Regions from separate parts of the Homo sapiens genome. Here all the other regions are linked to region 1. The links are contacts of gene promoters, found by promoter capture Hi-C in blood cells and fetal thymus (Javierre and others, 2016). All regions are on one chromosome and are shown on one strand. The core of a region is centred on a gene start or on the middle of the fragment in contact, and the rest is flanking DNA. Distances in the headings are between cores, read along the strand shown.

Region 1 (3,809 bases), core at 607-3,106:
GACTGAATTTTTAAAATTTTAAATAATTCAGTTAAAAGAAAAAAAAATAAAAACTATAAATAAAATAGTCAGCTTTTTTCCCCCACCTTCATTCCTATATTTCATGAGAGAAGGAAGGGTTTTTGAAGATGCTTAGATTGTGCTACTAAAAACAGGAGGCATTAAAGCATTTAAAACTAAATTGGTAAAGTTAAATATTACCATACGACCCAGCAATTCCACTCTTACGTCCATACCTAAAAGACCTGAAAACAGGCTCGGCGCGGTGGCTCACGCCTATAATCCCAGCACTTTGGGAGGCCAAGGTGGGCGGATCACCTGAGGTCGGGAGTTCGAGCCCAGCCTGACCAACATGGTGAAACCCCGTCTCTACTAAAAATACAGAAAACTTAGCCAGGCGTGGTGGTGGCACATGCCTGTAATCCCAGCTACTCCAGAGGCTGAGGCAGGAGAATTGCTTGAACCCATGAGGCGGAGCTTGCAGTGAGTTGAGATAGCGCCACTGCACTCCAGCCTGGGCAACAGAGCGAGACTCCATCTCAAAAAAAAAAAAGGAACTGAAAACAGACATCCAAATATTGTATGTGAATGTCCATAGCAGCATGGAAACAGCCCAAATGTCCACCACCAGCTGAAGAATGGATAAACAAAATGTGGTATGTCTATATCCATACAATGGAATTTTTTCAGCCCTAAAAAGTCCTGATAGGGCCGGGCAGGGTGGCTCATGCCTGTAATCCCAGCTACTCCGGAGGCTGAGGCAGGAGAATCGCTTGAACCCATGAGGTGGAGGTTGCGTTGAGCCTAGATGGCGCCATTGCATTCCAGCCTGGGCAATAAGAGCGAAACTCCATCTAAAGGGCCGGGCGTGGTGGCTCACGCCTGTAATCCCAGCACTTTGGAAGGCCGAGGCGGGCAGATCACGAGGTCAGGAGATCAAGACCATCCTGGCTAACACAGTGAAACAAACCCCGTCTCTACTAAAAATACAAAAAATTAGCCGGGCGTGGTGGCACGCGCCTGTAATCCCAGCTACTCGGGAGGCTAAGGCAGGAGAATCGCTTGAACCCGGGAGGTGGAGGTTGCAGAGAGCCGAGATCACGCCACTGCACTCCAGCTTGGGCGACAGAGCGCGACTCGGTCTCAAAAAAAAGAAAAGAAAAAAAAGAAAAGAAGTCCTGATAGATGTTACAACATGACTGCATCTTGAAAACATTAAGCAAAAGAAGCTAGACACAAAAGGTCATATACTGAATGATTCCATCAATAAAGAAATGCCCAGAATAGGTAAAGCTATCACAGAGTCAGAAAGTAGATTAGTGGCTGGCTGGGGTTGTGGGGAGAGGGGAACCAGAAGGAATGACTGCTAACTGGTTTGGGGATTTTCTTTTGGGGTTATGAAAATGTTTCTGAACTATATACAGAGGTGATGGTTGCACAACACTGTGAATGCATTAAACGCCACTGAATTGTGAGTTTTAAGATGGTTTATGTTAGGCAAGTTTTACTCAATAAAAATAAAAATAAACTGAATTGGTAGCTAAGATATTGAAACACGGTGTGGAATCGTTCTCACTCATTTCACGAACCCGTAGAAAGATGCTTGCGCTCAGGCCTCACAGACCGGTCCCAGCGCGTTGGTGGGACACAACTCGGATTTGCAGGCAAGCCCAGGGGCCGGCCCTTTGCGGACTTCCTGGGGACGCAGGACTCCTGCGCGGCGGGCTTGGAGGCGTGGCCAGGATGGGGGCGGGGCCAGGACGCGGCATCCAGGAGAGGACGCGGCGGGAGGCGGGCTTCGCCGGTTGCCAGGAGAACTCGCGACAACAAAAGACGCGGACGGCGGCTGCGCGGTGTGGCAGAGCGAAGCTGAGGAGTCCAGCGCTCGCCGACAGGGGCCTGGGCTGTCCCGAGCCGGTCAGTGCTCGGCGGGCCTGGCGGGCGGTGCGGGGAAGTGGGGCGCCCTCCCTTCGCGGTGCCCGCCCTCCAGCCCGCCGCGCCCGCCGCTCCCGCGCCCCCAGCCGGCCGTTGGGACTAGTAGGCTCCGGCTTGGGGTCGGGGCCGCCGCGGGTGGGTAGCGGAGGGTGGGCGGTTGGGGCGCCAGCTAGGCCTATGGGGGCGTCCGAGGGGTCTGGGGTCGGGGCTGGGAGCCGGCGAGCGACTAGAGGCAGAGCGCCCCTTCCGGAGGAAGTTGGGTCAGCCCTGAGGAGCGGGTCCCGGGGAACACCGATCGACCGGAACGCGGGACCCGGCCTTTCAGAGCGCACCCTGTGTTCGTCTCGTGTCGCTGCACGGCGTGAGGTGCGACGCGAGGGCCACCACCACCGAGCGCTTTGTTTTATCGCAGGCGTCTTTTTCCCACCGTAGAGGTTGAAACTTGGGCGCATTTCCCACCGTAGAGGTTGAAACTTGGGCGCATTTCCCACCGTAGAGGTTGAAACTTGGGCGCATTTCCTACCGTAGAGGTTGAACCTTGGGCACATTCAAGCCCGAGAGCTCCCTCCCTCGGAGGCAGGTGACTATAAAGAGCAAAGCGCCCAGATTCTTTCTTTGAAACACCTTTTAAGTAACACCTTTTAAGTCTCCAGTGTTGAAAATCCTTGTTGTTTGCCCTTCTTTACTCTTTTGTCGTCTTTACGCATTTGGGGCCTTTTCTGAGCTCCGTATGCGATTTACTGTCCATCTACTGGCAAGTTTTTTATGAAAATAATTAACAAACCACACATTTAAGACAACCACTGCTTTCTGGGAAATCAAGGGTACGGGATGGCAACGGTTTTTGGAGACACTCATTCCTGACCAGTGACATGACATGAGGGATTCAATATTTCTCTTGCCTTTGCTCAGATTTCAAAAACCCGTTGAGTATACTTAAATACGACCAATCAGATTTTGCTTTTTTTTAAATCATTTATTGGCAACATAATACGTATGTTTCTGATGACTATAATTGATCAGAATCTGAAGTATAAGTGCTATGGATTGTGTAAAAACTTTATTTCTTGTATATTGATGTTTTACAAGCCCTATGTTTGTGGACCATTACTATTGTTTGTTTGTTTTGTTTTGAGACAGGGTCTCGCTCTGTTACTCAGGCTGGAGTGCAGTGGCACACTGCAGCCTCAACCTCCCGGGCTCAAGCGATCCTCCAATCTCAGCCTCCCAAGTAGCTGGGACTACAGGTGCGTCACCACAGCCTGGCACATTCTTGTATTTTTAGTAGAGACAGGGTTTCACCATGTTGCCCAGGCTGGTCTGGAACTCGTGGGCTGAAGCGATCCACCTGCCTTGGCCTCCCAAAGTGCTGGGATTACAGGTGTGAACCACTGTGCCCGGCCCCATTATTATTTTTTTTAATGCTTAGAATAAGTTTCAGTTGCCTTTATAACCAAATTCTTTATAGATATTACCATTAAAAACCCCAAGAAATGAGGCTGGGCATCGTGGCTCACATTTGTTTTGTTTTGTTTTCAGGAGGGATCCTCTCGCTTCAGCCTTCTGAGTAGCTGGGATTACAGGCGCACGCCACCATGCCTGCCTAATTTTTGTATTTTTAGTAGAGACAGGGTTTCTCCATGTTGCCCAGGCTGGTCTCGAACTCCTGGGCTCAAGTGATCCACCCGCCCTGGCCTCCCAAAGTGCTGGGATTACAGATGTGAACCACCGTGCTGGGCCATGGTTTTTTTTTTTTCAAGGGTAGTGAATATTATCAATTCATTGTTGTTAGTGTTATTAATAAAATATTATTTCAGTCTAGTTGTCTGTGTTACTTAATGGTAATCTTCAAGACTCAGCAGCTTTTCCAAAGA
Region 2 (3,666 bases), core at 1,029-3,528, 450 kb after region 1:
TGGCAAGAGTGGGTGGACAAACTTGGCAGGGAGACTGGTGTGCACAGAGGCAGGGGGTTGGGAAGAGGCAAGGTGGGCCAGGGGCTTGAGATGTCGGTGTAAGAGTCTAGGGGCTGGAGTCCTGTGGGAGAGAAAGCTCAAATGCCAGTAGCCAGGTTGAGTTTGGGTATTCCATATACAAAGGGGGAACATCTAAGTCTTTGAGGAATATAATAATGATTGATTTTGGAGGTTAAACTGGCAGGATGCAGAAAGCGTTGGAAGGGGAAATATTGTAAGCATGGAGCCTGGGAGGTTTCGCCACAATCCTGGTGAGTGTGGCAGGGTTGGTGGCTGTAGAAGGGAAATGAAGAGGCAGATTAGAGAATAGTTTTGAAAGAACACTCGTGACTTGACTGCCTATGAGGAAAGCCTACTGGCATTTTATGCAAGTATAAATTATGTGCATTTGAGGTAGTCCAGCATAAAACTATCGAAAAAGATATTTTATATGAGAAATTTAGAAATAACCCCAAATCCTTTCTTCTCATCGGTGGCAGAGTCAACTCTCATGGCACAGGTTTTCACACTTTGAAAAATTGATCCATTCACACAAAAAGTGATTCTTTCAGTAAGAAAATCTGACTTTTCTGTTGACAGTATGCTTTATAAAGGTAGAGATATGTTCTCATGAAATAAAAGTCACCGAATGGATATTGTGCTGGCCCCTAGTGAGGAGGAGCTGGGCTGGGCTGGTGTGGCGTTCCTTTGGGTGGTGTTCTACTTTCCTGGTAGCATTATCATTGTTTCTGGCTCCAGAATGTCTCCTCTGTCACCTAGGTAAACACCAGTCAGGAAATGTCAGATCCCATGGGGTGACTGGGTGAGCCACTCACTCCCATGTATTACTAACCTTTGTTCCTGATGAGCGTTTCCTGAACTCTTTGGGGGCATGTTTCACGTGTGTGTCATAACAGATGTTCCTTGAAGAATTATGCTTGAGAAATGCTGCAGGTTTTATTTCCCTCACCCTGATCTTCTCTGCAGCTCATAGCACACATCAGCTTATTTATGGCTCTTGGGCAAGTGAGCAAACTAGTTTGACGTTGTTGACTCCAGCTTTTCCTATACTTATTTGACCATGGACCACTATTTTTGCACTATGCTTACTAAAATCTGAGCGGTGAGTTCTGGGGAAAATAGGGCTGGGAATGGAGTTTTTCCCAGTGGCATCTCTGGTAGCACCCTAGTCCCTTCAATGAATGAGCAAATGAATGTTCACGAGGCCCTTGCTCTGTGTTGTCACTATACAAGGTGATTTGCTTGTATTCTCACATTCAAACCTCAACAAGCCTCTTAGGTGGATTTAAGGATACAAGGCTCACATGAGTTAGGACACTTGCCCAAAGTTACATAGTTAGGAAATGACAGGCCCAGAGCTGGAGTCCAGATCAACTCCAAGTCCAGTGTGGGACGCCATTGCTAGCTCCCTGGTGAGAATTTTGGGTTCAGTCAGTAAAACAGCAGCCATTTCATCACAGAGGTTTCATACTTCACCACTTAAACAAATACAAATGTTTCTGTTGGTAAAATAAACCTCCCAGGTCTTCTCAGAGACCATCTAGCCCATTGTGGTCAGAAAAGAAGCTTTGAACAAGGTGAATTTGCAATGATTGGTTTTTAGCCCTTTTCCAGGGAGAGGATGAGTCCCTGTTCTTCCTGATGCTCTCTCTTCCTTTGTGTGGAGCAGTACGGGCTTTCCTGGACCTGCTCATCCAGCCTTGCCTCCCTGCATTCAGTTTCCCAAGCCGGTGTCCCACCCACCCTCACTGACCTGCAACTGTGTCCTCATGCCCTTCCCTTGTGAATGATAGCTCAAAATGGTGAAAGAGGAACTCAGTCATCTGCTGAGCATTATTGTGTAACGCTAGATATTGATATGAGAAAATGGAGCAGAGCCGTGAAGATAGTTGCCTGTTTTTCCAGTTGCCTAATGGGTTGTTAGACTCCCTGATAGACCTAGGAATTTACAAGTTGCCCAGAATGTTTCAATTTCTTTTTCCTGCTTCATCTTTTCAGTATTTGTGCCAGTTTGACCAGCAGAGCAGAAGGCCAGAGCCGTTCTCTGTGCTGTCAAATCTGTTCTGAGTGTATCATCTTGAGGGAGTACGTGTTGGTCCATCTTTTATTCTCAATTTCCTCTCACCTGTCTAGAGGCAGAGGGATGTCACCTTCTCCCCCCTAAAACTGGAGTTTTATGAGACAGAGTTAGCTGTGAGCAGTTTTCCTCTAGTACTGAGGCAGGACCATTAAATTGTTCTCTACTGCTGTTTGCTTCTATGTTTTGTTAGTAACCATTAATTAGTTTTAAAGATTTAGAAACTAAAACAGATGGGGGAAAATGCTCCAGCTTGTGTAAGATCACATTCTTCAGTCACTTTTATTGCATGTGAAGAAAAAGGAGAATCACCCTAAAGTGAAATTCACAGGTTAACTCCAAGTCTTCTTTGAATAATCCAGCCTGCAAATATTCATTTATTATTCATCTGCAATGTGCAAGGCACCATGAAACATCTTTGACATCAAAAATCATTGTACCACATCCTACCAGATTAGCTTGTGTATTCTATTCATGAATCCAGACCTTCTGATCGGGACCCTTCTGGGACATCAAAGGTCAGCCTCAGGGTTAGGCACACATTGGTGTGCAGAGGATTGGAGAGCTATCACAAGGCAAGGGGATTTTTGAGGCTGACAATTCAAATCCAGTCTCTGGCAGCAGCATAGTCCCTTAAACAAATTAACAAATAAACGTTTACTAGGCCCCCTGCCCTGTGTGCCACTCTGCAAGCTGATTTACATGTGTTCTCTCTCAAATCTCAAAACAACCCTCTGAGAGAGATCTGAGGTAACTGAGGCTCAGATAAGTTAGGGAACTTGTCTAAGCTTATATAGAAAATGGCAGGGTGAGGACTGCAGCCCAGATCAACACTAAGTTCAGCGTGTAAGCCATCGCCCCCTCTCTAATGGGAAGTTTGGGTTCAGTTCAGTAAGTGCAGTGGGGTGAGGTCCAGAACCTTCTCTGGGCTTTTCTAAATGTGCTCCAGTGGAGAGGGAACTATAGATGGAACTTCAGAGCAGCTGGAATCTGGGGCTGTGGTGCTTAGGTGTTCCCTGAGTGGTAGAACCTCTCCTTATTTAAAAAAAATTCTTTTAAATTTGCTACATCAGTTTCTTCTGGAAAACTGGGAATGGTTATGAGTTCATAGCTCCTCTCAGCCAGATTTAATGGTTTCAACACACCGGATCAACTGTACTTTAAAAAGTACAAATGCCTGGGTCCTATCCCCAGAGCTCTTCAGCCTGGGAATCTCTACTTTTATACAGCTCTAGGGAATTCAAACGTGCGTAAGAGTTTGAGAACTAGTGGACCAGCAGCTGCTCCTGCGGGCTTTCTCCCCGCCCCCCATCTTAGTTTTCTGAGATCTCTCATTGGTGAGAAGACACTGGCTGCATGAGTTTTAATTATGTATGACCACGGAGCCTTTACCTGACAATAGCCGGTTTCTAATTCCCATCTGAGCTTTGAATTCAGGCATTTCCCTCTCCTCCAGTTTAATGTGTTTTTTTTTTCTCTTTGTCTCAAATAAAAAAGGACGTTGTTGCTCTTATTTAATTCCATGTTTT
Region 3 (3,784 bases), core at 1,099-3,598, 370 kb before region 1:
GTTATTCCTTCATCTTGGTTAACCGCCCTGTGCTTATCTTTTTTTCTTTTTTAAGCTACTCCTTAATTGTATGCTACCTTGCTTAAGGAGGTTACAAAAGTAGACACTTCTGGTTTTGGAGGTGCTAGAGAAATTGAAGCAAAAAGGAGAAACAGCTTTTCACTCCTGAGGGAGTTTCATAAGCATGAGCGTGCATGCATACACACACACATACACACACACAGCTGAAGAGTTCATGTCCTTCCTGCTGCCCTAGCCTCAATGAGTCCTATGTTCATGTGTTAGATCAGAGGACAAGGAGCTCCGTCAGCTAATTTGGATGCACCACACACGAGCACAGAGCAGTGCAGGCAGTGCTTGGGGCACAGCCCCAGCCCTCCTTGATCCCAATAAATAAATCAAAATGTACAAAAAGGAAGAGAAGAGAGAGAGGGAACCAGAATACAGGTAGTAGCAGAGTTCAGAATGACAGCAAGAACTCCAGGGCCCATAATTTCCTGTTTAAACCCCAAAACATTCAGAATTGTTATGCTCTTGTCTAAACTAAAAAGCAAGGAGAGAGAATGCAACAGGAAGTCCTCATCCACCATCTCTAGTTGAAAGGCCAGTACAAAAGTGGAACCAAAAACCACGTTCATTTCAATTAAGTAAAAAAGACCAAACCTCAAATACATCCTGCTACATATGGGTGACCTTTGACAAAACAACTAAACTGTTCTGTGCTTTGGTTTCCTCTTTAATAAAATGAGTATAATTACATAGGACCTCTCTCAAAGAGTTATTGTAAGAATTAATTGCATTTTCTGGACTGTCAAGGGCTTAACACAGTGCCTGGAATGCAGTAAAGCCTTCCATAAGCATGTTAGCAATTGTCATTTATTACTTGTATACAATAGACCTATAGAAATTGATTTGTATAATGTTCAAAGTATACGCAATGACTCAGACTTACTACTCCAATAAGAGGATTTGCTTGGCCTGCTCTAGGGGCTCAATAAGTTAAACTTACCTTTAGCTCCATCATTAGCTTGCTGACAAATGTTGAAGCCCTCAATATTTTACACCAGTTTAAGGATTTTAATCCCTACTTTGAAGTTTTGGGTATACAAAAAGTTCTTTGCTGACTTTGTCCCTTTCTTCCTTTTAGGTTGGATGGATCATGCTAGTTACTACGGGATCATCTCCTATTGAATCTGTAGTTGCTTCTGGCAATATATTTGTTGGACAAGTAAGTTGTAATATCAACAGAACAAAACATCTGTTGAAATGGATCGTCTCTTTCCAAAAAGCCAAATAAGAAAATAACACAATGTTCTTTTAGTGTAGAGAAAATGGTGTCAAAATAAGAAACCCCCAGTATTGGCAATGTCCGGATTCCAGGGGGAGAAGAGAGAGAGACAGAGAGAGAGAGAGAGAGAGACAGAGAGAGAGACAGAGAGACAGAGAGACACAGAGAGAAATTCCTTTTAACAGTCTGGGTATGGTATGTAGAATTGGGTTCTTGAGAATGTTTATGAAGAGGATGGAAGGTTGTCATTTTATTAAGGCATAGACATAGAGCTTCTCATATAGATTCTCAATAAATCTGAATTTAGTGATTGTGAGGTTTCTGGTCAACTCTTCAGAGGCTGGTAGCTCTTCCACTTGAATGGATTTCACTATCTCGAAATCTCCAAGCTACAAACAGCCTCCCATTCTAAACTATAATGCCTGTGGCAATGGAGGAGACCAAGAAAGCCTTTCCACCAACAACCATGCAACTGCGTAAATACTTGAGCTTATTCTCAACTTGTCTGAACTGGCCAATATTCTGTCTTTGCTGAGCCTGAAGAAAAATGCTTTTAGGTTTTTCTCTTCTCATCAAAAATAAGCTTTTAGACTTCAATTTTCACCTCCCTGTTCCATCACATGGAGAAACGCTCTTTTGCCTGAAGCCCATTTAAGCAAATAAATATCATGCCAAGGAGTGTCCCTCAAAATAGCAGCATGGCTAAGGGGTGGATCAGTAAGAAATTGTAATAAGCCCCTCATCACTCCAGATATGCAGCTTCAGGCAGAATGGAGTCACACGCCACGAAAACCAGGTATGAACGCTTGCCAGCACCACTGCCCAAGGAAACTGAATTTGAAGCAAAAATCAAGTCACTCAGAAAAACACATAGCCCCAAATCCCAGGCTTACAACTGCTCCTGGCAGGCTGAAACTTCTTGTTGGTAAGCCAACAAGAAGCACGGGCCTCTACTCTAAAGACTATGCTTACGGCTGGGCGCAGTGGCTCACGCCTGTAATCCCAACACCTTGGGAGGCCAAGGCGGGCAGATCACCTGAGGTCGGGAGTTTGAGACCAGCCTGACCAACACGGAGAAACCCCGTCTCTACTAAAAACACAAAATTAGCTGGGCATGGTGGCGTATGCCTGGAATCCCAGCTACTCAGGAGGCTGAGGCAGGAGAATTGCTTGAACCCAGGAGGTGGAGGTTGCAGTGAGCCGAGATCATGCCATTGCACTCCAGCCTGGGCAACAAGAGCAAAACTCTGTCTCAAAAAAGAAAAAAAACCTATGCTTACTAGCCTGGAGCATAGTCTTTAGAGTGGGGGCCCATCCCATGCTTCCTTCCCTAGGAGTTGAAATTATTATAATTACAGTCATAAAATCTCTCAGGACTAATTAGGGCACCATCTTGAGTTGATTGCTCCTACCTGTGGGGTAAGAGGGCTCCCGCACAGGGTTCCTATTTAGTCGGTAAATCGAGGCTCCACACATTCAATCTTACAGAACAATTAGAGATAATAAGGAGAAAATTGTAAAATTGCACACAAGCTTCTGTGATGTTCAATTTGATACTTAATATGCTAAAAGTACAGCTATTATCTATGGAGAGCCCCATGCCGCAGGCTGCCTGTCCTCCTTAATGGGATTCAAGCCTTTACAACTACACTCTGTCTGCTTCTTCCTTTCCACCCATCAGAGAGGGGTCTCTGATTCTCAATTACAGAAGGGCCTGCGGGCACCTGTTCTTGTTATTGCTGAGGTTGTTTGTTTGTTTGTTTGTTTGTTTGTTTTTAATGCTTGTGTCTATTTCTCTGAGGTCAGGAAACAGGTTTAGGGTCTGTCAAGGTGAAGTTGGAAGACAGGAAGCCACAGTGGCTTAGAAATCACCCATCCAGAAGGTTAGGCCACTGCATAGAGTCAGTTGGCCCTTAGAAAAGTGCACCAAGACATCACAGAGTCCAGTCCTAGGCTGGGTGGAGGCCTTCTATGTCTAGCCTCACGAATTTTACAAAATTTATACATGACCACATATGGAAACTGATCTAGAGTTCAAATAACCCAGACGTCGATGGTGTGGGTTCTCAAATTTGAGCATGCATTGGAATCACCCGGAAAGCTTGTGAAAATACAGATTGGTAGCCCCCACCCTTGGAGTTTCTAATTTAGTAAATCGAAATAATTTGCATTTCTAACGAGTTTCCAGGTGACGCTGATGGAGCTGGTCTGAGGTTCACTCTTAGAAACTGTCTGCTTTAAAGAATAAAATTGTGAGTAGATTGGCATGCCTTCCCCTGCCCCCACACAGATTTAAAAAGGAATCTGGTCACCCTTCTTTGTCTCCAGACGGAGTCTCCACTGCTGGTCCGACCATATTTACCTTACATCACCAAGTCTGAACTCCACGCCATCATGACCGCCGGGTTCTCTACCATTGCTGGAAGCGTGCTAGGTGCATACATTTCTTTTGGGGTAAGAATGTTTTGGAATTATGAAAACACCAACCTCTTCTTT
Region 4 (3,828 bases), core at 225-2,724, 400 kb after region 1:
TCAGTTTTCAAGTTCTGAGTGTCAAAGCATACGATTTTCTTTCTAGGGAAGTTGCCCTTTGAGACAGTGTCAGGAGCATTAAGTAGATAATACATTTTAAAATCCTATCAACATGCTACAAAATTAAACATGTTATATGAGGAGCAGCTTTGCAAGTTATGCTGCAATAATTTATCTTTATTTAGTATTTATTTATATCTCAGATACCTCTTGTGGCAAATTTTGTTTTGTATATAGTTTTCAGGGGGTTATTGTGAAAATTAAAATAATTCAAGTTCTACAAAATTGCTCAAACAACAATAATCTAATATTAATAATGCAATGACCTGAATCTTAAATGTACAATAGAGTTTTATCTGAATATATCTATGTTTTATGCTAACGTTTGAAATATGATTATTCTGTAGCAGGGGAAAGCAATTAACGTGTTAACAGATCAGGGTATGGCTTATAATCTCTCACCTCAGAAGTATAATTTGTTGCTTTAAAACTCTAGTCCGTGATGCTAAACGTTAATCTGGAAAGTCAAGATTAACCAAACCAAGGTCTTTACACGTAAACTGAGAATTCAAACACAATATTATTTACTAATGAATATAATGATAAAAATCAAGCAGTCTTTAAAAAATCAGTAACTAATTAGCCTTATTAATAGAAGAGAGGACAAACACCTAATTAACTAGTTGGCTAATAATTCTTCCTTGATGTTTCTAGCTAATGTTATTTTTTGGCCGGTCGATACACATATTACTGTCCATTGTTCTGAAAATAATAATGCTAGTCTTTGTCATCTGTACCTTGTGTAGGTATTGTCTACAATGTTATGATAAGTGGAGTATTTATTGGTTCTTTGTTTAGCAGCAAGCTTTCTATATACTTATAGTCCTCTTGATATCCTCGAGTATAATAATGATAATATGTATTAATTGATTAAATTGAGGTTGATTTAAACAGAGATGTTATAGGATTGGTCCAATGTCTCATATTTAGCAAGATTAGGATGGGGTATTGTGTCTTGTATTTTAGGTTTGCTCTTATTACACTAAATACCACCATTATTTTGTTTTTGAATGTTCTCAGTAGTCTAAATGATATAATTTCTTTCCACTGACAACTTTTTTAATAGCTCAAGAGAAAAGCCATACACAGATCACACCTCTGGGTAGAAAAAGCACATTGATGTCTTGGAACTGTCATCCAAGGACACAGTCTAAATTCTTTCCATGTCTACTTTCTTTTTGTAACCTGTGGCTGAATGTACATCCAAATAAAATTGCAATCAACTTACCATGGTTATATGAGTATTTTGTCATCTAACATAAGTAGACAATTGAAAACTACCTCCCCTTTCCTTTTACATGTTTGGCATGGTACAAATATTGCTTGTAGTTTGAAATTTCAAATTAGCTCCCCAGAAGTTGTAAAAAGAGAAAAAGGAAGGGTAATGCTAATGAAATTTTCTATCTGCCCTTTAATGTAATTTACCTTGTAGTTTTGAGATTGACTCTGAAAGTCAAAATCTAGCAATGCAGAGCATGGTATTTAGAGGACTTTTAGAAAAATAGGAAAACAATGTATTACTATTATTTTTGCTTAGGCACTAGCCACTGCCATGTCAGGCTCTCTCTGTTTTGAAGGCTTAGGCAGAAGAGTAATAAACTCTGTGGAGTAGGGATGGAAAATACACTTCAGGTTATTTTATGCCACCTGGAACCTTATCAAGGATATCTTCACCTCCTGTGTTCCCAAACCTCAGGGGAGAAGTATTTCTGCTGAGGGTCATCCTGACACAAGGGGGCACCTTGAGTGACACCTTTTGCCTCCAAGTTTGAAGACATAGTTTTTCCACCATGTATAGATGGCACTTTCTTGGTTCAGTGCTGATTAAAAGGAAAAAAAAGAGGAAAAGTTATACAGTAATTCAAAGGCAGCTGTGAAGCCTGAGTTTGCAGTGCCAGCAGCAGTGTGGTAATTTGAGAATAGTAAGTTAGACAGACAAAGCAGATTTTAATCATATGCCACAGAGAGGAAGGTGGTTTAGGTTTATCTCCAAATTGTACCTCCATAGAGAAAGGGAAGCTTTTAATGCGATTATTCAACATATATTGTTAAAGATTACTTTTTTCCTTTCCCCAACCTTTCTTTAGTGTGTTTACTGGGTTAGAAATGGCAGCCTTTTTTTCTCTCTTAGTGTATTGAGCAGTTGTTAAATATAAAATATAAAACATTTTCTTGGTGTTATGGGAAATGCAGAGAGAGATAGAGAGGGAGAGATTGTGAGATTCTAGTCTGAAGACAGAGCTGAAGACTTAAGAAAATATTTTCATCCATCTATCTATCTATCTATTCATCCATCTAACTATCCATTAATTCATTCATCATTTATCCACTCTTCCACTCACCCACCAACCCACCCATCCACTCATCCACTCTTCCATCCACTCATCCGTAAATCTATCCATCCGTCCGTCCGTCCATCCATCCATCCATCCATCCATCCATCCATCCATCCATCCTCCATCCATTCACCAAACAAACATTTATTGAATACCTCTGTTGGGGACTGCTGTGAGTAGCAGAGATACAAAAAGACAAATAATAATTAATCCTTGCCAATCTAGTAGAAAAGACAGACAGACACATAAACAGATTCAGCATAGCACTATTGTGATAGAAAAATACTAGGATGTTATTGGAGCTCATAAAGGGGCCAATAGTAGAGCCAGAGTGTGGCTTGGGGGAAGGCATAACCTTTCTTTAACCTCTAGTGGCTCTCCTCCAATGTTACTACTTTAAAAAATATATCGGGCTGGGCGCGGTGGCTCACGCCTGTAATCCCAGCGCTTTGGGAGGCCGAGGCGGGCAGATTAAGAGGTCAGGAGATCGAGATCATCCTGGCTAGCACCGTGAAACCCCGTCTCTACTAAAAATACAAAAAATTAGCCGGGCGGGGTGGCGGGCGCCTGTAGTCCCAGCTACTCGGGAGGCTGAGGCAGGAGAATGGTGTGAACCTGGGAGGCGGAGCTTGCAGTGAGCCGAGATCGCTACACTGCACTCCAGCCTAGGCGACAGAACAAGACTCCATCTCAAAAAAAAAAAAAAATTATATATATATATATAAAATTTGTGGTTTATTTCTTTCTCCTTATTTATTTTTATTGCAGTAAAAAATGTATGTAACAGAATTTACCATGTTAGCCATTAAAAAAAATCTTTTTCTTTTGCAGTGCCTGTGCCTCGCACAGCTCTGGGACAGGCACAGCTCCCTGCCCCCCCAGCCGCTGAAGGCTTCTCTACGCCCCTGTTCTGGCCTCCGCGAGCAGAGGAGCTTGAGGCGGGCAAAGCTTAAGGCGACACCATGTTAGCCATTTTTAAGTGTGCAGTTTAGTGGCATTAAGTAAATCACATTGTTGTGCAACCGTAATCACCTTCCAAAGTTACTACTTATAAAAGAGATATTCTTTGAAATGGATTACTGATATTTTGTCACTCACATTTCAAGTGTGAATAAGAGAATCTTTAAAAGCTTTGTTCTTTTTCTTGCAAATGTCTCAGCCAAAATTGTATCTTGCTATAAAATGTGATTTCAAGAGACGTCCCACACCCCCTTCCTTGGTTCCTACTAGACGTTCACCCTCAGCGTGTCTCCTGTATAGATATGCTGGAGCAGCCACTGAGGGGCCCTAATCCAGCCTGGGAAGGGCCAAGAAGATTTTCTGGAGTAGATGATACCTGAGATGAGCTATAAGGAAAATGTAGACATTGTCTGGCTAATAAATGGGGAAATGTGTTGAGAAAAGGTGCAGTTAGGGAAAGAAGGACATTCTA
Region 5 (3,937 bases), core at 691-3,190, 410 kb before region 1:
TTATTGCTGTTGTTTTAAATAGAGACAGGGCTTCACTCTGTCACCCACGCTGAAGTGCAGTGGCACAATCATAGCTTATTGCAGCCTCAAACTCCTGAGCCCAGGCAATCCTTTGACCTCAGCCTCCTGAGTAGCTGGGACTACAGGCACGTGCTACCACAACTGGCTAAGTTTTTTTATTTTTTATATTTGTAGAGACAGGGTCTTGCTATGTTGCCCAGGCTGGCCTCTAGTGATCCTCCCATCTCTTCCTGGGTTTCCCAAAGTGCTGAGATTACAGGTGTGAGCCACCTCACCCAGCCTCGGGCAAGGCTTTATTTAGGTAGAAAATCTAGGAATAAAGTTAGAGCAAAAAAGAGAGTGAGTTCTCTTTGAGGCCTGTTGGTTGAAATTAAGTTGACTCCAGGCATCTTCATGAAGGGGTAGATGAAGTAGGAAGCTTGTAGCATACGTTCACCTGGAGCTCAGAAGAGGACACACATTTGGGAGCTGTTAGCATAGATATGAGCGCGGATAAGACCACTGTGAGGGAAGCCTGGGAAACAGTAGCGCTTAAGGAGTGGGGAAGTTAGAGATGTCAGAGAATGAAGCAGAGGGCCACAGGGAGAGAAAGAGCAGCAGAACCAGGAGAGGGGCGATCTGGAGAAGTCAAGGGAAAGTAGAACCACAAGTCAACAGAAAAGACTCCGAAAGGACAGAGGAGTCTATAGAGTGAGGCCACGGGTTCACTTGACTTGCCAGCTAGGAGGTTACTGGTGACGCTAGGGTTGGGGAAGGAGGAGAAGTTTGTGTTATGAGCGGGAGTTAGGCTAGGAAAAATGGTAGCAGAATGAACGCTCTTCTGGTGCAGTGGTGGTGCTAGGGAGGGGCGGGGAAGGGGAAGACCTAGGGCAGGCAAAGGCAGTTGTGGGGAGGTGTTTTTATGTTAAAAAAAAAAAAATTCGTTGTGAAATACAACATACAGAAAAATACATAAAAACAAATATACAACTTATAAGGCGAACTGTCACTCAGGTCAAGAAACAGGATATTGCCATCCCTCAGGGTCCAGCCCTACACATTTCATCACTGCTGCCTCCCTTCCCTGGGGTAAACCCAACCAGGGGTGACTACTGACCCAAATGTGGGGCAATTACTTCCTTGCTTTTCTTTATACCTTAACTTCTAATTATGAATCCCCAAGCAGTACCTTTGCCTGGTTTTGAACTTTATATAATAGAAACACAAAATGTATTCTTTGCTTATATTGAAACTTTTTTTTTGTTTTTTTGAGACAGAGTCTCGCTCTGTTGCCCAGGCTAGAGTGCAGTGGCGTGATCTTGGCTCACTGCAACCTCTGCCTCCCCAGTTCAAGCGATTCTCCTGCTTCAGCCTCCTGAGTAGCTGGGAATACAGGCATGAGCCACCAGGCCCGGCTTGTATTTTTAGTAGAGACGGGGTTTCACCCTGTTGGCCAGGCTGGTCTCAAACTCCTGACCTCACGTGATCCACCCGCCTTGGCCTCCCAAAGTGTTGGGATTACAGGCGTGAGCCACCATGCCTGGCCATCAGCTCTCTAAGATTCACATGGTGTTGCATGTAACTGCAGCTCATCCCATTTCATAATGCACAGGATTCTGCCATGTAAATATTCCACAACTTATACATTTTGCTGCTAGTGGACATTTGCGTTATTAAGTTTGGGGTTTTTGGAGCTTCTACAAACATTGCAGCTAGGGACACTGTTATCCATGCCAGGGGGAGTATCTGTAATAAATTTACTCTGGGGTTGTACTTAGGAGTGGAATTGCTAGGCCACTGGAATAAACATATACTTTCAACTTTGCTGATAGTGTCAGATTGGTTTCCTAAGTGATTTTACCAATTTGCATGCCTATCAGCAGAGTGAGTATTCCCATTTCTCATCATTATTCAGCTGACCTTTTAATGTCAACCATTCTGGTGGGTGTGTAGCAGTATGTCATTGAGTTTAATTAAAATTTTCCTGTTATTGGTTGTTAGATGCCAACTTTTTAAATATTTGCTCAACTTTCTTGCCCATTTTCTCTACTGGATTTTTTCCATTTTTATTTGAAAGAGTTCCTTAGATGTTCTGGTTACAAGCCTATGAAAGGAAATTAAATTTTGGGACCCCAAACTCATTTAACCAAAGGGAAAAGTCAAGCTGGGAACTGGGTCACGCATACCTATCTCCCCCTTTTGGTTCCTAAATAAGATGGCTACAAGATGAAAAGCTACACGCTTCCCCCATGTTTTGCCCACAAGGAAATTCCTGGTGAGCTATAAAAACTTCACCATGGCAATGTAATTGATAACTTATCTTTACAGGTGCAGTCACCCCAGATACAAATGCATATCTGATTGTTCCCCTACCCCATTTCGTCTGTATTATCTTATGTAAAATGCAGATTCTCCACATTTTTCCTTTGCCCCCTTTGTTTACATGAAAACTGTGTGCTTCTCACTATCCCGCCCTTTCTCCTTTAAATTTGGAGCCCTCAAAATCATCTCTGGAGAAAGGGATAGACCTGTCTCCCAGGCAGTTCCTTAACTTTGGCAAATAAATCTGCTAAAATGATTGAGACTTGTCTCATCATTTTCCTCGATTGACAAGCCCTTTGTCAGTTATGATTTGTAAATACCTTCTACCACTGTGAAGCCATCTTTTACTCTAATGGAATATTCTGAGGAACAAAAGTTAATTATATTGGTCCCATTTAGGAAACATTGGGACAAAAGTTAATTATATATGGTCCCATTTAGGAAACGTTGCTTCTCTTTCCTGTATCTTGTCTAAAATATCTTTTCCAACCTGCAAAATCATGAAGATTTTTTTTTCGAACAAGTGTAACTCTTTATTAAGATAAAATTGTTTTTATTAAAGAAATAGATAAAAATGATTAAGTACAATCAAATGGCTCCAAAAGCCTTACAATGAAAGCAACAGTCCTGCCAGTTGTTCTTTCCAGAGGCAAGCACTTCTCATTCTCTCAGTTTTTCCTTCTGGTAGTTACCTTCATGGGTTTTTCCAATTATTATTTTTTTAGTTTTTCAAGTGAATGCATATATTAATACATGAAATTTTTAAAAGCCTCTTCAGTTTATAATGCATCCTACCAGTCCCCTACCCTATCCCTCCTAATTCTCCAGAGCAATGACTTTTAACTCTTTTAGCAATGTCCTCTATTTTTTTCTCACATAACTACTTAGGCATTTCTTGATTGTTTTATACATTATATAGTGATTTCTTGATATGACAGATGAGGATTTAGCTCTTACACCATCACTGTCTTCACTTTTCCTCCCATATTGTCCCAAAGTAGTTACCAGATTTAGAGGCTAAGCAGTCATCACTTCATTATGACAATGTCCATATTGCTCATTGTTGAGAACAACAGGGTATTATGCTCTAAAGTCATTAGGATATTTTCTAAAAGCTTATACTTTCATTCACATTGAGGATCTCTATTCCCCCTGAAATTGAGTTTAATGTATAGTGTAAGGTAGGAGTCAAGTTTGCTTTCCACACGAACATCCACTTATTTTGGCATTATTATTTTTTAAATTTACTTTTAACACCACTCAGTGATCATCAACATTGCTTTAAAAAAGAACCTTTTCCCCACTCCACAGATATTTTGCCACGTGTCCATATTTGGGAGAGGCTTTTTGGAACAGGGCAACTGAAAGATTTTTCCAAACTCAGAGGAGATGGGGAAGAATCCAAAGAGATGGAAGTTAACAGCAACAGAGGTCAAAACAGTTCAGAATTTCTAAGAGGAAAATGCAGGAATGTTTTTTAACACATTTATTAAAAGGCATCTCTTGGAATCCCAACTCAAGTTTCCTCCTCCCTGTGAATAAGCAATCAATCTTACCACAGCTGCTCTCAGAGGCACAGAACCCAAGCTTGCTCTGAAGTTAGTTGGGTGGAACT
Region 6 (3,968 bases), core at 1,310-3,809, 450 kb before region 1:
CAATTATATGACATTCTGGACAAGGCAACACTGTGGAGATATTACAGTCCATAGATTGTAACAAGTGTACCACCCTGGTGGGGGATGTTGATAATGAGGGAGGCTGAGCATGTGTTGGGGCAGAAAGTATATGGGTAATCTCTACTTTCCACTCAAGTTTTCTGAGAACCTAAAACTGCCTTAAAAAATAAAGTCAGGCTGGGTACGGTGGGTCATGCTTATAATCTCAACATTTTGGGAGGCCAAGGTGGGTGTATGACTTGAGCTCAGGAGTTTGAAACCAGCCTGGGCAGCATAGTGAAACTTCATCTCTCCAAACAATACAAAAATTAGCCGGGCATGGTGTCACACTCCTGTAGTTCCAGCTACTCTGGAGGCTGAGGTGGGAGGACTGCTTGAGCCCAAGAGTTGGAGGTTGCAGTGAGTTAAGATGGCGCTACTGTACTCCAGCCTGGGTGACAGAGTGAGACTCTGACTCAAAAAATAAGTAAGTAAAGTCAAGAAATTAAAAAAAAAAGAAAGAAGGGAGGGAGGGAGAGAGAAAATTAACTCAGGTGCCTCCCCAGGATATTGAGATATCATTGCCCTGGGGGGCCTTCTCGCCCCCAACAAGGACCCTCTTGCACCCATGTTTGGGAACCACTGGCTTATGTGAACAGACCCCTGTCATTTATTATCTCTGTGACCCTATGATGTTGGGAAAATTCCTTCACTCTGGCCTCAGTTGTATTACCCACAAAACAAGGGTAATCGCTTCTTCATGGAATTCTAGGAGGGATTAAATGAGGATTCAAGGTATGTAAAGTACTCAACATTGTAATTCCTTTTCCTATCCCTAAGGAATAAGGTTTTGGTCTAAGGGCATTTAGGGACTCACCTAAGATTTTTAATGAAGAAAATGATGTGACTTGCTTTATCTAGAAAAATCATTGATTAGAAAAGTAATTTCATCAGCTATATGGAGATCGATGGAGGGAGGATAAGAGAGCCAGCTTGAGGCCCTGGGAAGAGTTCGTTGACAGCTTCTTGCAGTAGTCAAATGAGAGATAGTAAGACCTGAGGTAGTGGAATGGAAAAAGAAGGGACACATACATTTGAGAAAAACTTAAGAGGTAGATGGGACAAGTTTGGTGACTCAGAGTCAGCCTTGATTCTTGTCTCTCCTTCACAGCCCACATCTGCTCTGATAGCAGGTCTTATCTCCCCTACCACGACACAACCAGTTCTGCACTGCTCAGCCCCGGGCTCTCAGACTGTTATGATTAGCATCTAATGTTCTTCTTGCTTTCAACCCTAATCCATTCTCTACAGAGCAGCCAAAATGTTATTTAGAAATGTAAATAAAATCACATCCACTCCCCATCTCAAAATCCTCACATTGAATAAAATCAAATTCTTTAATCTGGCTTTCAGGACTTGGCTCTGATTTCCTCTCCCACCTCATTGCCAATGTTCCCCCACTTCTGTGCTCCAGCCTTTCTGTTTTTCACCAGCTAAGCTCAGGCCCACCCAAGAATGCCTGGAACTACCACTTTTCTATGCTGAGAATTCTTTCCCTGCCCTCCCATCAACCAAGCCCCTCCCTGGCCTCATCCCTTCCCCATGTCCCAAATATAGTGCTCCCCCCATAATTGCCAGCAACAGTGGTTCAACATCAGTGCAAAATAGTTGTCCATTATCTTAAGAAATTGAACACTCATGTCAATATCAGGCTTAATTGTATACCCCAAGAATTATTGCACATGTGCACAAAAAACATATTCAAGAATGTTCTTAGCATTGTTCATGATAAAAAGAACTGGAACAATTCAAATGTTCATCAGTGGAAGTTTGGATAAGTAAATGGTAGCATTGATACAATGGAATACTATACAGCAATAAAAATAAATAAACCGGCAGGGCACAGTGGCTCACACCTGTAATCCCAGCACTTTGGGAGGCCGAGGCGGGAGGATCGCCTGAGGTCAGGAATTCGAAACCAGCCTGGCCAACATGGTGAAACCCTATCTGTACTAAAAATACAAAAATTAGCTGGGCATGGTGACTGTAATCCCAGCTATTCTGGAGGCTGAGGCAGAAGAATTGCTTGAACCCAGGAGACGGAGGTTGCAGTGAGCCGAGATCGCACCACTGCACTCCAGCCTGAAGTGCAAAGCTCCATCTCAGAAAAAAATAAAAAAATAAAAATAAGTGAACCATAGCTACAAGCTTCAACATGGATGAACTGAATCTCAGGAAATAATGTTGAGGAAAAAAGTGAATTAACAAGTTTCAGAATACACATAGTATGATACTATTTTTTATAAAGTTCAAAAATAAGCAAAACAAAAAATGTATTTTCTAAGGGTACATATATGGTCATCAAATCTATAAAGGAAAGCAGAGATAACTTTCTGACAAGTTTAGGAGGTCACCTTAAGGAATGGTACCCCAAGCACCTTAAGTTGGTTACTTTCAACTGTTCCTAAATGCATGATGCAAATGCCACTTGGAATTGCACCAGCCTTCTTCTAATTCTCGATGATCAGAAAGTCCTTCCTAGACTGGGTTTCAATAATGCCCAGCACAGCTTGATACTGGATTAACAAAGTATTATCATCTCCAGGCAACCAATTTGCTGCAACTTGCCAGCATTAGCAGCATTTTAATCTATAAATAGAGATTTAGATCTCAACCGCATGAGAACAAGACTTCACAAACAAAGAACTCTGCTTTGAATCAGATGTTAGAGAACCCCTTCCTGAGGTTCCTCCCCTTCAGAACCATTTTCTTCTTCCCTTGCTGTGTGACTGTCAGAACCAATCTCAAAAAGGATTTTTCTTGGCAATGTTTGCTTTCTGTTAATTTCTCCCACAACTCTTATTAAAATATCCTTCTTTGTTGGGAGATGGGAGATGTGAACAAGCTTGAAAATTCAAAGTGCTAGTGTTAGGCATCTGAGTGCAATTCATTCACTCATCACAGTGTTATTGCCCCCTTATGATGTGTAAGGAGCTGTGTGGGGAACTAAGGAGAACACAAAGACAAACGTGACATTGTCCAATTTTTCAAAGAGTTTTTAACCCAATAGAAGGAACAGACGTGTAAATATTAATAAATTGCAATAGTACAAGGCATAATGTAACCATTCACACAGGGGCTAGGAACTTGGCTCATAGTCATTCTGTGTAAACTTGGGCACGTGACCTAATGTTTCCAGGCTTCCTTTTTTTTTTTTTTTTTCTTTTTTTTTTCTTTTGAGCTGGAGTCTCACTCTGTTGCCCAGACTGGAGTGCAGTAGTACAATCTCGGCTTACTGCAACCTCTGCCTCCTGGGTTCAAGCAATTCTCTTGCCTCAGCCTCCCAAGTAGCTAGGATTACAGACACCCACCACCACACCTGGCTAATTTTTGTATTTTTAGTACAGACAGGGTTTCACCAAGTTGGCCAGGCTGGTCTCAAACTCCTGACCTCAAGTGATCCACCTGCCTCAGCCTCCCAAAGTGCTGGGATTACAGGCGTGAGCCACCACACCCAGCCTGGGCTTCACTTTTGTTATCTAGAAAATGGAATAGGCCAAGTGCCGTGGCTCACGCCTGTAATCCCATCGCTTTGGAAGACCTAGGCAGGTGGACCACGTGAGCCCAAGTTAGAGACTAGCCTGGGCAACATGGTGAAACTCCGTCTCAACAAAAAAATAGAGAGAAAGAGAGAGAGAGAGGAGAGAGGAGACAGGAAGGAAGGGAAAGGAAGGGAAGGGAAGAGAAGAGAAGGGAAGGGAAGGGAAGGGAAGGGAAGGGAAGGGAAGGGAAGGGACTTGTCTCATATCATTAATGAGAGGAATGAATGAAACATGCATATAAGGAATATGCTACAGGACCTTACCACTCAATGATGAACCATTCCTGTCATTACAAAGTACCCTGGAAATACACTGAAGGGGCCAATTCAGAACGTCTTGTGCCTTTGAGGACAAAAGATTTTACAA
Region 7 (3,536 bases), core at 150-2,649, 430 kb before region 1:
TTTTAGTAGAGACGGGGTTTCACCATATTGGCCTGGCTGGTCTCGAATTCCTAACCTTGTGATCCACCTGCCTTGGCCTCCCAAAGTGCTGGGATTACGAGCGTGAGCCACCTTGCCCGGCCTCATTTAGGTAAATTTAAGAAAAATAGGATTGGTGTATTGTCTACTGAGAATGGGAACCATCACATTTTATCTTAGCTGGATGGAGCCCCAGGGATTTAGCAGATAGTCACACTGAACAATACCTTCCTGCCCAGGTGTGCGTCACCTTTCTCCCCATAGGCCACAGATTTGAGGCCCTGCCCACTTTTCTTTCAGGTTCATGAGGAAGCCCAGTTTCGGAGCCCTTAACTGACCTCCTCAGGCCTTGAGGATGGGTTAATGATGGGAGGAGGGCCTGAAACTTTGGTCCTGATGCCTTGATGGGTCTCAAATTATCCCATGCTGTAAGTCTAGAATCCCATGGGCTGAACTGGGTGGAAGGGGGAGGTGAGCTATATAGCTATCTATGGCTATTACGACAATAGTTTGCACTTATTCAAGAAATAATAGGTGCTGGGTGCAGTGGCTCATGCCTATAATCCTAGCACTTTGGGAGGCTGAGGCAGTCGGATTGCTTGAGCCCAAGAGTTTGAGACCAGCCTGGACAATATGGTGAAACCCCCATCTCTGCAATTTTTTTAAAAAAAATTAGCTGGGTGTGGTGGGGTGCACCCGTAGTCCCAGCTACTTGGGAGGCTGAGGTGGAAGGATCACCTGAGACCAGGGAGGTCAAGGCTGCAGTGAGCCATGATTGTACCACTGCAATCCAGCCTGGGTGACAGAGTAAGAACCTTTCTAAAATAAAATAAAATAAAATAAGAAAAGGAAGAATAGGGCACTTACAATGATAATAGCTAATGTATTGAGTATTGAGTGTTTTAAGTACCCAGCCCCATTCCAACAATTGCACAAGTATTCTCGTTAGATCCTCACAAAACCCTAAGAGGCTCTGAGAGTCTGCATAAACTGCTCAAGTTCCCAATCTAGAAATAGGGGAATTAGGATTAGAACCAGGCAGTCTGACTTCAGAGCTCTTACAAAAAAAAAGAAATCAAAATATATATAGACCAAACCGAAAATGACAATATGTACTTTTTATCACCCCACATCAGAAGTTCATGATATCTGGTGGACCCATGTATAGTAAATTGTTGATTTGGATTAGTATTGGCCTGACGTGTTTTTTTCCCCCAAGACATGGTCTCACCCCATCACCCAGGCTGTACTATAGTAGCACGATCATAGCTCATTGTAATCTTGAACTCCTGGGCTCAAGCAGACCTCCCACCCCAGCCTCCCAGTTAGCTGGGACTACAGGCATGCACCACTGTGCCTGGCTATTTCTTTTTTCAGAGGCAGGGGTATCACTATGTTGCCCAGGCTGATCTCCAACTCCTGGCCTCAGGAGATCCTCCTGCCTCAGCCCTGACATCTTTATTATGCGTTTTACTGTTTCCCCTGTGGCAATATGTCATCTGCACACTGTGAATTTGGCTCCATACGACGTCCAGCACCCCATAAGCTACCCAACCAGTGATTTAATTCCAATTGATTATCCCTGCTCAAAGGATCACAAAATCATGCTTTTCAAATTCTATCATTTTTATATTTGTTGCTGGCATTGATATATAAGGTATAGCTTCTTCTTAACAACTGGGGCTATTTAGTTACCCTGAATGCAATTCCTTATGAACAATATAAATGCTTATTTTCTCCCTTTTTAGGTTTTTTTCAGAGTTTCCTTTTTTCTTTCTTTCTTTTTTTTTTCTTTTTTTCTCTTTTTGAGACAGGGTTTCACTCTATTGCCCAGGCTGGTGTGCAGTGGCACGATCTAGACTCACTGCAACCTCTGCCTCCTGGGCTCAAGCGATCCTCCCACCTCAGCCTTTCGAGTAGCTGGGATTACAGGCACACGCCACCATACCAGCTAATTTTTGTATTTTTAGTAGAGACAGGGTTTCGCCATGTTGCCCAGGCTGGTTTCTAACTGCTGGGCTCAAGCCATCTGCCTGCCGCAGCCTCCTAAAGTGCCGGGATTACTGGCGTGAGCCACTGTGCCCGGCCTAGAGTTTCCGTTTTTAAGTATCATTATAGACTCATGAATTTTTGAAGGTTTTATGTGTTTCAATCGATTATAAACATTGTTCTTTCCCAGGCCACTCCTATATCCTTTGGCTATAAACTTAGGTAGGTTTAAAAACTTCATTGTTTCTAGCACAAGAAGTCCTAGGTGTAACCTGTGGGGTTCCTTTCAGGGGGGATGGTATTTACCAGCCAGGCTTTCAGAGCTCTTAGATACCTACCCTCTGCATTGCCTCCATGCACAGCCCTATGCCCCATGCAGGAGAGCCCATGGTTCACAAAACAGTGTCCTCTATGAGGGTTGGCCTGGCAACAGGACAGTGTGGCCTGGGACAGCCTCGCTGAGGAGCTAAGATCTGAGCAAAGAGAAAGAGCCAGTCCAGGGGCCAGTCCAAATTCAAGTGAAAATGTCCTGTGGCCAGAACAGATCTGGAGGACTTGGAAGATTTGTGAGCAAAGAAGAAAGAGAACAAGATGAGGTGAGAGCCAGGCATTGAGCCACATTCCTATACTAACAAAGAACAGTGACACCAATATCTCAGTATGTACAGCTATCATAAGAGGAAGCCGATAAGTAGGATTTTTTCTTTCAGTAATTAGAATTTATATTTTGAGTGAATGAATGGGATTTACCTGGAATGATTGGTTTTGATAAGTTTTGAATCATGCTAATGAATGCTAACAAGGCAAATAAGTAAAACTAAAATTAACAGGAAAGCATACAAACTGAAAGCATATAAACCTACATAGGTTTACATAGTTTGGTGTATTTGTGATTGTGATTGTTACATTACATGTGTAGGACATAGTTCTTTTCTGTTTATAATTTTTGTTTTTGGAGACAGAGTCTTGCTCTGTCACCCAGGCTGGAGTAGAGTGGCTCAGTCTCGGCTCATTGCAAGCTCCACCTCTCGAGTTCAAGTGATTCTCCTGCCTCAGCCTCCCAAGTAGTTGGGATTACAGGCGCGCATCAACACGCCTGGCTAATTTTTGTATTTTTAGTAGAGATGGGGTTTCACCATGTTGGCCATGCTGGCCTCGAACTCCTGACATCAAGTGATCAGCCCACCTCAGCCTCCTAAAGTGCTGGGATTACAGAAGTGAGCCAGTGTGCCCAGCCTGTAAATTGTTTTTAGTACAGTAGATGGAATAGAATTCAATATCATTATTTCCCTGTTCCCAAGTTATACTTCAACTTACAGATGTTTTACCATGTTGTTTAAGAGCCAAGACACCTCAAGCTTCCACCAGTATATGAAATAACTGAGTAGACGTGAGTGAGGCTTAAAATATGTAAACTCAAGATGTGATTTGAAATCTTTACTTTTGGATTTACAGCAAATGTTAAGGACAACTTACATTTGGGATACATATTTGGGGTACATACCTAAATTCTTTTTTTTATAATGTCA

What was found. The method cuts DNA at HindIII sites, captures the fragments that hold promoters and counts their contacts. A CHiCAGO score of 5 or more calls a contact.
Region 2: a contact is called between a fragment that was not itself captured here and the fragment with the promoter of KIF27 in region 1, in 2 of 17 cell types (monocytes and neutrophils). The highest score is 5.9, in monocytes.
Region 3: a contact is called between a fragment that was not itself captured here and the fragment with the promoter of KIF27 in region 1, in 16 of 17 cell types (non-activated CD4 T cells, monocytes, naive CD4 T cells and 13 more). The highest score is 13.9, in non-activated CD4 T cells.
Region 4: a fragment that was not itself captured here is called in contact with the fragment with the promoter of KIF27 in region 1 in 2 of 17 cell types (monocytes and neutrophils); the score reaches 8.7 in monocytes.
Region 5: a fragment that was not itself captured here is called in contact with the fragment with the promoter of KIF27 in region 1 in 2 of 17 cell types (neutrophils and monocytes); the score reaches 8.7 in neutrophils.
Region 6: a fragment that was not itself captured here is called in contact with the fragment with the promoter of KIF27 in region 1 in 6 of 17 cell types (monocytes, M2 macrophages, neutrophils and 3 more); the score reaches 18.2 in monocytes.
Region 7: a contact is called between a fragment that was not itself captured here and the fragment with the promoter of KIF27 in region 1, in 2 of 17 cell types (M0 macrophages and M2 macrophages). The highest score is 6.1, in M0 macrophages.

The regions. Positions count from the first base shown.
Region 1 is chr9:83,919,479-83,923,287 of GRCh38, reverse strand. KIF27 (kinesin family member 27) reads left to right here and starts at 1,856. Exons shown (of 18, transcript NM_017576.4): 1 at 1,856-1,917. It overlaps LOC105376335 (serine/arginine repetitive matrix protein 1-like), which reads right to left and starts at 2,387. Exons shown (of 3, transcript XM_011519284.2): 1 at 2,027-2,387; 2 at 1,590-1,934. The coding sequence starts at 2,387. RefSeq lists enhancers at 456-960, 1,575-2,324 and silencers at 1,694-1,843, 1,874-2,253. The HindIII fragment of the contact is 5,103 bases long and covers 1-3,809 here.
Region 2 is chr9:83,469,633-83,473,298 of GRCh38, reverse strand. The region is part of intron 1 of FRMD3 (FERM domain containing 3); the gene reads left to right. Among named protein-coding and RNA genes, the nearest start is that of FRMD3, 67 kb to the left of the region's middle. The HindIII fragment of the contact is 1,299 bases long and covers 1,629-2,927 here.
Region 3 is chr9:84,290,112-84,293,895 of GRCh38, reverse strand. SLC28A3 (solute carrier family 28 member 3) reads left to right here. Exons shown (of 18, transcript NM_001199633.2): 10 at 1,148-1,228; 11 at 3,617-3,742. It overlaps SLC28A3-AS1 (SLC28A3 regulatory antisense RNA 1), which reads right to left. Exons shown (of 2, transcript XR_001746802.1): 2 at 3,760-3,784. Among named protein-coding and RNA genes, the nearest start is that of SLC28A3-AS1, 14 kb to the right of the region's middle. RefSeq lists enhancers at 1-51, 442-501. The HindIII fragment of the contact is 950 bases long and covers 1,874-2,823 here.
Region 4 is chr9:83,521,842-83,525,669 of GRCh38, reverse strand. All of the region lies in intron 1 of FRMD3 (FERM domain containing 3), which reads left to right. Among named protein-coding and RNA genes, the nearest start is that of FRMD3, 15 kb to the left of the region's middle. The HindIII fragment of the contact is 1,214 bases long and covers 868-2,081 here.
Region 5 is chr9:84,331,632-84,335,568 of GRCh38, reverse strand. All of the region lies in intron 1 of SLC28A3 (solute carrier family 28 member 3), which reads left to right. Among named protein-coding and RNA genes, the nearest start is that of SLC28A3, 7.2 kb to the left of the region's middle. The HindIII fragment of the contact is 2,998 bases long and covers 442-3,439 here.
Region 6 is chr9:84,373,373-84,377,340 of GRCh38, reverse strand. No RefSeq gene overlaps it. Among named protein-coding and RNA genes, the nearest start is that of SLC28A3, 35 kb to the right of the region's middle. RefSeq lists an enhancer at 410-910. The HindIII fragment of the contact is 697 bases long and covers 2,211-2,907 here.
Region 7 is chr9:84,353,136-84,356,671 of GRCh38, reverse strand. It overlaps a transcript of SLC28A3 not described here. Among named protein-coding and RNA genes, the nearest start is that of SLC28A3, 14 kb to the right of the region's middle. RefSeq lists an enhancer at 32-622. The HindIII fragment of the contact is 3,937 bases long and covers 1-3,367 here.